Regions from separate parts of the Homo sapiens genome. Here all the other regions are linked to region 1. The links are contacts of gene promoters, found by promoter capture Hi-C in human tissues and cell types (Jung and others, 2019). All regions are on one chromosome and are shown on one strand. The core of a region is centred on a gene start or on the middle of the fragment in contact, and the rest is flanking DNA. Distances in the headings are between cores, read along the strand shown.

Evidence for each region. Contacts are between HindIII fragments. The study calls those that stand out against the background at their distance.
Region 2: a fragment that was not itself captured here is called in contact with the fragment with the promoter of FERMT3 in region 1 in 1 of the 25 tissues and cell types used here (dorsolateral prefrontal cortex).
Region 3: a contact is called between a fragment that was not itself captured here and the fragment with the promoter of FERMT3 in region 1, in 1 of the 25 tissues and cell types used here (dorsolateral prefrontal cortex).

Annotation. Positions count from the first base shown.
Region 1 is chr11:64,205,223-64,208,324 of GRCh38, reverse strand. It overlaps FERMT3 (FERM domain containing kindlin 3), which reads right to left and starts at 1,604. Exons shown (of 15, transcript NM_031471.6): 1 at 1,511-1,604; 2 at 801-974. The coding sequence starts at 960. RefSeq lists enhancers at 956-1,035, 1,356-1,435, 1,870-2,432, 2,336-2,595, 2,433-2,995 and 1 more. The HindIII fragment of the contact is 1,553 bases long and covers 1,581-3,102 here.
Region 2 is chr11:63,886,385-63,889,458 of GRCh38, reverse strand. All of the region lies in intron 1 of MARK2 (microtubule affinity regulating kinase 2), which reads right to left. Among named protein-coding and RNA genes, the nearest start is that of RCOR2, 29 kb to the left of the region's middle. RefSeq lists an enhancer at 833-942. The HindIII fragment of the contact is 3,056 bases long and covers 242-3,074 here.
Region 3 is chr11:63,868,734-63,871,833 of GRCh38, reverse strand. The region is part of intron 1 of MARK2 (microtubule affinity regulating kinase 2); the gene reads right to left. Among named protein-coding and RNA genes, the nearest start is that of MARK2, 31 kb to the right of the region's middle. RefSeq lists an enhancer at 1,888-2,107. The HindIII fragment of the contact is 6,472 bases long and covers 1-3,100 here.

The DNA.
Region 1 (3,102 bases), core at 355-2,854:
CTATTCTCACAGCTGCTCCGGGCCCTGCCCCTGGCAGCTCCCCTCACAGCCTCAGTCTTGTGGCCGGGCCGTTCTGGACCCTATCCTCTCCACAGTCGGACTGACCTCCTCCTGTGCTGCACATGGTGGCCTGGCGGGGTCTGAGGAAGCCTCCCCACCATCACCCACCCCCCACCCACTGGCAGCCCAGGCCCAGGCTCTTGGCCGGGACTGTGGTGGGCCTGTCTTCCGGCTCTGCCTATCGGGGTCTTCCTGCTGCTCTCTCAGGAAGGGGTAGCCCCCACCCCCGGCAGGGAAGGAAGATGAGGAGCCCCCGTGTCACTAGCCCCGTGGTCCTCCATGACTGATACCACAGCTGCTCTGCTGTAACTTCCTGTGGGGGCAGGGCCTTCCCACCCAGGCTGGGCCTGTCACCAACCTGCTCAAAGCTTCCGCCAAGGGGAGGGAGCGTGGGGGCAGGCCCCTGGGTCACCTAGACCCCCTCAGACCTCAGCAATGTGACTTCAGCCTCGGCCCAGACAAGACCACTCCTTCTGCCCCTATTGGTGGCTGAATGGAGGATTGTGGCTGCGTCTGATCCTTAGCAGACCAGCTGCAGCAGAAGGGAGGGAGGGAAGAGGGTGGGAGGGAGAGGAAGTTGGGGAAATGTCTTTTTTGGAACCAAATGATTAAGCTAATGCCTGAGTCACCGTGACACCATTATCGGGAGCTGAGCAGCAGGGATGGCCCGGAAGTGCCCAGAGACACCCGTGGCGGCCGCCCATGGTGCCGAGTTCAGCAAGCGGGCAGCGGACACTCACTGATCTGCTCCACAATCTTCAGGAGCACCCCGCCGATGTGCGACTCCCCAGTGACCCGCAGGGTGACCGACTCGGCCTCTGGGTCCTCCTCTCCCACAAACACCCGCAGCTCCCATGACGAGTCGATGTAGTCCCCGGAGGCTGTCTTCATCCCCGCCATGGCTGCGGCTGCTGCTACAGAGAGTGTGGAAGGAGGCAAGGTGGGCAGGCCCTGGTAGGCCTCCGGGTTTGGGCAGAAGAGCTCTGTGATGCCCTGGACACACCCAGAGGAAAGCCGCTCATGAAGGAGGGCGGGAGTGAGCACCCAGGCCAGCACGCCCGTGGTACCCTCAGACTCTCTCTCCAGCGCTGGCGCTTGAGCCGCGAGGGCCCTCAGAGACCATGTAGTCCAATCCGCTCCCATCCTACAGGCGGGCAGACTGAGGCCGGGTAAGAAGGGGCTCACTCAGGACCACCGTGCTCAATGCCAGCCCACAGCTCACTCCCAGACCCTCAGGGGCAGCTGCCCACTCTGGCCATGGCTTCGTACCCAGGCCAGGAAGTAGTTCCGATCCTGGCCCACAGCTCAGATGCCAACATCACAAACCAGCCAAAGCCTCTCCGGGGAGGTGGAAAGTTCAGGCTGCCGCATGGCGAGAGGCAGGCTGGGCAGAGGCTGCAGGAGGATAAGGAAGAGAAGGGCCCAGGGTCCCAGTGAGGCCTGAGCTTACCTTTCCTGGCAAGGGCTGGGGGCTGCAGGTGGGTCTCGGGCTACACCCCTGTGGGCCGTGGGCTTCCTGCCCTCCTTTCTCTTTGGAGCTTCCTTCAGGGCAGCCCTTGCTTGTGCCTTATCACGAGCAGGGCGGGTTCAGCCCCTCCCCAGGGCGGGCTGGCGCTGGGTGCAGGAAGCACACTGCCAGCCCACAGAGGGTTCCAGGGGCCCCCCCACCTTTGTCCCCAGAGAGCACAGGAAGCTAGGGAGAGCGGGGCTTAGCGACTCAACACCATAAAAACGCCCCCTTCCTCATTTGGAGGGAAGCTCAGTGCAAACTCAACAAGTCCCCCGGCTGTGTGTGTTCAGGGCTAGGTCCACTTTTGTGGGAAGTGTCTGCCATCCTCAGCCTGTCACATGAGGTGGGGACCTTGGGCTTTGAAACATCACTGGGCTGCCGGAGGGAGAGCCCAGGAGTCGACAGAGTGTATCCAGGTTATTTGGGACTCACAGGTTAAATCGGCTCCAGCCTGGCTATCCCTATCAACCAAGGATCCCTCAAGGCCCCAGAGGGAAACAAGTCCATTTTGCAGTTTTTCCTAGCTCCGCGTAGGGCTACCTTCAAACTCATGAACTCAGACCTGCCAGGTGAACAAGTGAACAGTACTTGGCCCAGACCATCCACAACCTCCCGGGCCCTCAGGTCACCCAGCTCCAAACACGACCCCTCCACTGTGCTCCACTTGGATGAGCCTCCCCGAGTCCCCACGAGGCTCACTCCCATCAAGTCCCTGCTTAGGTGACACCTCAGGGGTCTCTGGTGGTCTATACCCTCCTGCTCATCACCTGCCCTAGGATGTGGACTTCAGTAGAGCAAGGCACGTCCGCCACCAGCTCTGCGCAGGACAGCGGCCTTTCCAGTGAACACACTGGGGTTGGAGCATGCAGGGTGGGCAAGCCTGGGGGCGGCAGAGTCCTGCCAATGGGGGAGGCTACCTGAGCATCGCCACTCAGATGGGGAAGGGGGCGGCCTGCCGGGGATTCCCAGGGGAAAAGAAAGCTGATGAAACTAACAGCAGGAAGTCCAGCCAGCTGCTAGTCTCAGCGCCTTCCTAGCCCAGAAAGCAGCACTCTTGGAGCAAATGAGGAAGTTTTACTCCTGCCCCAAAGGCCTCCCCAGTCCAGGAAGAGAGCTTTAGAAAACGCAGCTTGTTGCAACCATGGAAAAGTGTAATTAAAGCTTAGCACCCTAAGTTCTCAGGTAAGAGCCGTGCATTAAAACCATCACCCAGGCCGGGCGCGGTGGCTCACGCCTGTTAACCCCAGCACTTTGGGAAGTCCAGGCGGGTGGATCACGAGGTCAGGAGATTGAGACCATCCTGGCTAACACGGTGAAACCCCGTCTCTACTAAAAATACAAACAAACAAACAAACAAAAAATTAGCCGGGCGTGGTGGCGGGCGCCTGTAGTCCCAGCTACTCGGGAGACTGAGGCAGGAGAATGGCGTGAACCCGGGAGGCAGAGCTTGCAGTGAGCTGGATCACGCCACTGCACTCCAGCCTGGGCGACAGAGAGAGACACCATCTCAAAAAATACAAACAAAAAAAACC
Region 2 (3,074 bases), core at 520-3,019, 320 kb after region 1:
CATGGAGAAGCTCATGCTTTGGGGCTCTGCATTCAGGGCTGGCTTCAAGTGTCCTTTGGCTTCCCGAGGGCTGAGAAGGAGCCAAACCAGGAGGGGTGATATTCCCTGGCCAGAAGCAGAGTAAGCCAGGCACTATAGAGTTGGGGGAGAAAAGTGTCCCTTGGGCACCAGTCCTGGGCAATGGCCCCAGATCCTAGGCTCCCCCTCACTGTAGCACGGGAGCATCCTCTCTGAGGCCTCAGGCCTCTGCCTCCCACCAGCCCCTCCTCGCCCACTTGTCAAGCTGCTTGTTCTCAGGGGAGACCCTTCTGGTATGTGCCCCCTCTTCCTTTCCTAGTCAATGCCTCTTCCACATCTGGACACCCTTCCCATGAATATTACTATGCTGGACTCAGGCAGGGCGCCCCTTAGCAACTCTCTAAAGATCCTATGTTTGAGATGAGAGGAAAGAAAGAGGAGGAGGCAATCCTAGAGTAAAAAGGGGGACAACATACCCGACTGGAGAAAGGGAAAAGGACTACCAGCGACTTCCATTCAGCAGAGCCCACAGCAGAACCTGTCAGGCAGCGAGGGCAAAGTACAGAGGCCGGGAAGAGCCAGGCCTAGGGCGGGGGCTGCCGGCTCAGCCAGCCACCCTTACTCAGCCAGAGCAGGCGACACCTTCCACCACCTCCTCAGTGAAAAGTAGCTAAGCAGCCAGGCCGAGCGGTTCCTGCCTGGGAACCTGGACGGTGTCGCAACCGAAACCACCACTAGCAGAGAGACTGGGTTTGGCAAGGAGAGCAACAGGGACAAAGCCCCGCTGGCTTCTCAAGGGCCAGAGCCTGGTGGTCAGGAAGCGCGTGCAATTCCAGGACAGCACACCAGAAGCAAGGTGGGAGGGAAGGGGCAGGAGGGGAATAGGGCAGGAAGGGAGACAGAGAAAGAGGCGGGTTTAGATCAACTTCCTTCTCCCCTCCCCCTCCCCCCCTCCCCGGAAGTGGGCAGCCCCACCCTCCCCAAGGTGCTTTGCTGGGTAACAGCTGGCGAGAGGTCGAGGAGACTCACTGCAGCCACGGCTGTCATAAAACCCTAGCTCACCTGTGGCAGGTGGGACCTGGGTAGGGGCAGATGACTTTAACAAAGCCTCCAATAGGGCTGGGGAGGAACATGTGTGACTCAGATGTGCTGACCCAGAGTGGCGGCCCTGCCAAAGACCAGCAAACCACCCCCTCAAGAACGAAGTGGGGAGGAGGGTAAGCAGAAACCAGCAAGCTGACAGTGGCGGACGGACCTCCTACTTCCTAAAAAAGCAGTGCTTAACCTTGGAAACATGCACATTCCACTTAGACACAAAATATTTTGAGCATAATTTCAGGGAGTTTGGGGACTCTGTAAAGCCCCCTATGAGGTGTATGTTTTCTAGATTAAGAGCCTTTATCACTGATAGAGCATTCTATCAATGAAAAAATCATATTTAATCCTAGATTTTGCCCAAAAGCTAGAAACAATCCAAATGTCCCTTTTAAGTTCCTTCCAGCCCTGCTTCTGAACGTTCATCCCTAGGTTCTCACTCACCTCCAAGTTTCCAGTCACCAATCCCCTGCCTTACCTTCAAAACAACACTGCTTTCTCAAGGAATTCCAAAGGCCTGGGATTCCTCACACCTTCCTCCTGCTAAGCCCCCACTATCTGGGCACATGGTGAGCACAGGGCAAGCTGGCTGTCTCTCATCTGGAGAAGACTCCCCTTCTAGACCAACGACCCCTGTCTATGTGCTGGTTGCAGCCTTGCCTCTGGTTCTCAGAACAATTTCTCATTCATCCCCTATTCTAGGCTAGGCTCCCTCTCATTAAGGAACTCCGTGACCTTCTCACGTTGGTAGCCATTAACCCTCTAGGGAAGGGCAAAGCTTCCTCTGTGCTCTCACAGCACTTAAGCATATATTCCTGCAAGACCATGCTACTCAGGAGTGGCCAAGAAATGTTTGCCTTACACATGAGCCCTGGCCAACGGATTCAGCATTTCTGATGCTACTGTATGTCCAGCGCTTACACTTTGTTTTCTCCAAACACAGACCTATAGGGTAGGTAGTCTCCCTGTTTTCCATTGAGAAATTGGCATTCAGAGGTTATGAGACTTGCCCAAAATCTCACAGCTTCTCAGTACAGAGCTGGGGCCGGAGCCCAGAGCTTTTGTCACCATTTCAGCACTCTGCTGTTCTTGACAGTCCCCCTTACCAGTTTCTCATCAACCCTTCTTGATGCCTAATCGTGCTCTCATTTCCCCCAAAAGATAAGCCCCTGGCTCCTCCTCCATAAGCTAGGAGGCAGAAGGTATGAAGACTCAGGGAAGGTGCTCGGGACACTGGGAATGACAATGTTTGATTCAGGCCAATGGTGAAGTGCTGTTTAAAGGCCTATCCCAGTGGTCCCACAGCAACCCTTCCTTTTCCCAGCCCCCCAAAAGTGGGCCCTGACTTCAGTGGGCCCACTGGATCCTGGGCTCAAGCTTGCCCGGGCCCTCCGGCCCTTCACTCACTGGTAGACTGAGAACCAGAGCAGGATCAAACAGCTTCATTTTTCTAGTCCCTTCATTTTTCTAGGGCTTTGCAATGTGACAGAAGGACTGTTTCCTCAATCCTATTTGTGGGAGACAGTAAGGGATTTTGTAAACTGAGGAAATACAAAGCACTGACTACAAACAGAAAAGCTGGGAAGAGATAGGGTAGGATTTAGATTAAAAGCCACATGGGGGCCAAGCATGGTGGCCCCCACCATGTAATCCCAGCACTTTGAGAGGCCGAGGCTGGTGGATCACTTGAGGTCAGGAGTTCGAGACCAGCCTAAGCAACATGGCGAAACCCCATCTCCACTAAAAATACAAAAATTTGCTGAGCGTGGTGGCGTACACCTGTAATCCCAGCTACTCGGAGGCTGAGGCATGAGAACTGCTTGAGCCTGGGAGGTGGAGGTTGCAGTGAGCAGAGATTGCACCACTGCACTCCAGCCTGGGCAACAGAGTGAGACTCTGTCTCAAAAAAAAAAAGCCACACGGGGCTGAGCACTGTTGCTCATGCCTTAATCCCAGCACTT
Region 3 (3,100 bases), core at 520-3,019, 340 kb after region 1:
CACACAGTGAATACTCTTCACCCACACCTGCACACTGTGAATACTCTTCACCCACACCTGCACACAGTGAATACTCTTCACCCACACCTGCACACAGTGAATACTCTTCACCCACACCTGCACACTGTGAATACTCTTCACCCACACCTGCACACAGTGAATACTCTTCACCCACACCTGCACACAGTGAATACTCTTCACCCACACCTGCACACAGTGAATACTCTTCAGCCACACGTGCACACAGTGAATACTCTTCACCCACACCTGCACACAGTGAATACTCTTCACCCACACCTGCACACAGTGAATACTCTTCAGCCACACCTGCACACAGTGAATACTCTTCAGCCACACCTGCACACGGTGAATACTCTTCACCCACACCTGCACACGGTGAATACTCTTCAGCCACACCTGCACACGGTGAATACTCTTCAGCCACACCTGCACACGGTGAATACTCTTCAGCCACACCTGCACACGGTGAATACTCTTCACCCACACCTGCACACAGTGAATACTCTTTAGCCACACCTGCACACAGTGAAAGCACTCCCTCTTACTCCAGAAGATGGCACATGGCGGTGGGGGGAGCACCAACACTCATCTCAAAAGGCACCCAGGACTGGGAAAAGGAAGTGATGGCTTCGTATTTAAAGCATGCCTTAAAAAAACAACTTTCTGTATGCACGCACGTACACACACACACAAATATGCATATACACACACACAAACATAACTGATTTTATGTATGTGTGTGTAGGTATATACACATATACATGTAAAATTGATATCAAATTAGATCCACATGGTTTCTGGATTTTTGCCCACACTGTATTATGAGCTGGCTGTCTCCCCTTCCCTGCCTGCAGCTCCAGACTAACTCTCTTCCCTTCCTAGAGTCTCACTCTGGGTTCCAGCCACCTGTCTTCAAATGTACAATGGCCTCTCAGACCCCCCCAGGTCTTGGCCACAGCTTTCCACTGCCTGGAACACTTTCCCTCTAGCAGTCACTCCCATTCCTCTTTGTGGTGAGCCTCAGCTCAGACATTGCTTCCACCAGGAAGCTTTCCTGATCCCTGCATCACTTCACAGGGTCTCTCCGGACATTTCCCAGCTCGGGCCTTCCTGCACTAGCACTTCATTGCTTGCTGAACGGCCTCCTTCACAACTCTTGTTGGCTGTCTTGTTCACTATTACACAGACTGAGAGCAGCATAAGGGAATTTCCAAGACTAAATCACTTCGTGTCTTCAGTGCCCAGCCACAGTGCCTGGCACCTAACAGGCTCTCCAGAAATGCTTTCCTAACTCACCACGGGAAGTCTCGGGGTCAGAGTCTTCTCGCTTTTCTCGGAGTGACTCCTCACCCAAAAGCTCTTTGCACAGCTCTGCTCCATGTGACCCCTTTTAGCCTGGGTCAGGGCTAGAATGCTGGTGCCGACTTTTAAATCATTCCCAGCCGGGCGCCACGGCTCATGTCTGCAATCCCAACACTCTGGGAACCCAGGTGGGAGGATCACTTGAGCCTAGGATTTGAGACCAGCCTGGGCAATATTGTAAGACCCTGTCTCCACAAAAATACAAAATACAAAATAAATCATCATTCCCTAGGGCCTCTGGCACCTCTATGGGCATAGTCTCCGGCAGGATTTCAGAGGTGCTCTCCAGTGTGCAGAATTGGGGCCTGCTACCCTTCCACTTGTCCTTTCCCAGCTTGCCTTCTGCCGTTGAGGGCTGCAGCCAGCCCCTCTGAAGTGATGGCAATGGGGGCACGCTGCCAAGGGCATAAGATCCATTCTAGACCCAGCTCTGCGCAAACAATTTATGTCACCTTGGGCAAGTCATTCACCCTCCTGGGACTTTTGTTTCCATGCTTATAAAATGAGGCACCGGAGACGAGCCCTGAGTGTCTTCCTGTATGGATGCGACAGCCCTCAGTGCCTCTGTGCTCACAAGCCTTCCAGCCCTCTTCAAGACCACAGCAGGAAGTGGGCATCGTCTGCATGTCCTGAAGATCGCTTCCTGACCTTGACTTATGTCAAGACAACCTGCCTAAAAGTCTGGCTCCGGAAGTAAACCTCACCTAACATGCCTAAACACCAAGATGGAAAATCTCTTCCACCTAAGGCTGAAAAAATTAAAAGCAACCTAGGTAGACAACTCCAGAAATCAGGGTACTAAGCAGTAGCACACCTCAGAAACATGACAACCCTGAACTCAGGGTGCCCTCAAGAAGGATCATCTCCCTCCCTAGACTTCATTTACTCACAATTTACAAGCTCCCGGCCCCTCCCAGACTCTCCACATACCATAAAAATGTGGCCACAAGGCGCAGGGAAAGGCACAGTCTATTTCCAACAGGCCCCAGGGCTCTGCAGCCTTAGTTTGAGCAGCCCGGACTAGGCACAGCTCCTGTTAAGGTAAGTGGCACACCTAGTTCCTAGCACTTGCCCCCACCTGCAGCATGATTCTCTCAGCTCGGCGAGTCTGCAGGCTTCCAGGTGGGGAGCTGCCTGCCTGCCTGCCGCGAGCAGGTAATCCATGAAGAGAAACTGAGTTGGCAAAGCCTAGCAAGCAGCAGTTTCAGCCTCCCTGCCCAGGGTGGGGGTGGGTGGGGTGAGGGGGGAGCAGGGAGGCAGATACAGGCAGACCAGTTTAACAGGTCCTTATTTCCACCACCCCACACAGCTGGTGCCTTCTTCACCAGTTCAATAAAAGGAGATTCAAAAGTCAGATGACACTTTCATACCACACATCACAAAGACCAGAATCAAGGAAGAAGAAAATGGTCATCCTTCTCACTCTTCCCTCACTCACAGTGGCCTCGGAAAACATGGTCCCTAGTCTCACAGTTCATGGGTCAATCAGGAAAAGCGACTGATCTGCTCTGAGATGCTCAAAGGAAAATCTGGGTCCTCACCATCATCAGGCGCTGAGCTGGTGTGAAATCAGTTCTTCCCGTGCCATGCTCCTGGGCTTTTCTCCCACTATAAATAACTCCAGCCTTCTGACAGACCACATGATCTCTCCAACGCTGGACAATATTCCCAACACTAGTGTTCCTCTGCCCACCCATCAAAAAAGAGGCAAGACTGA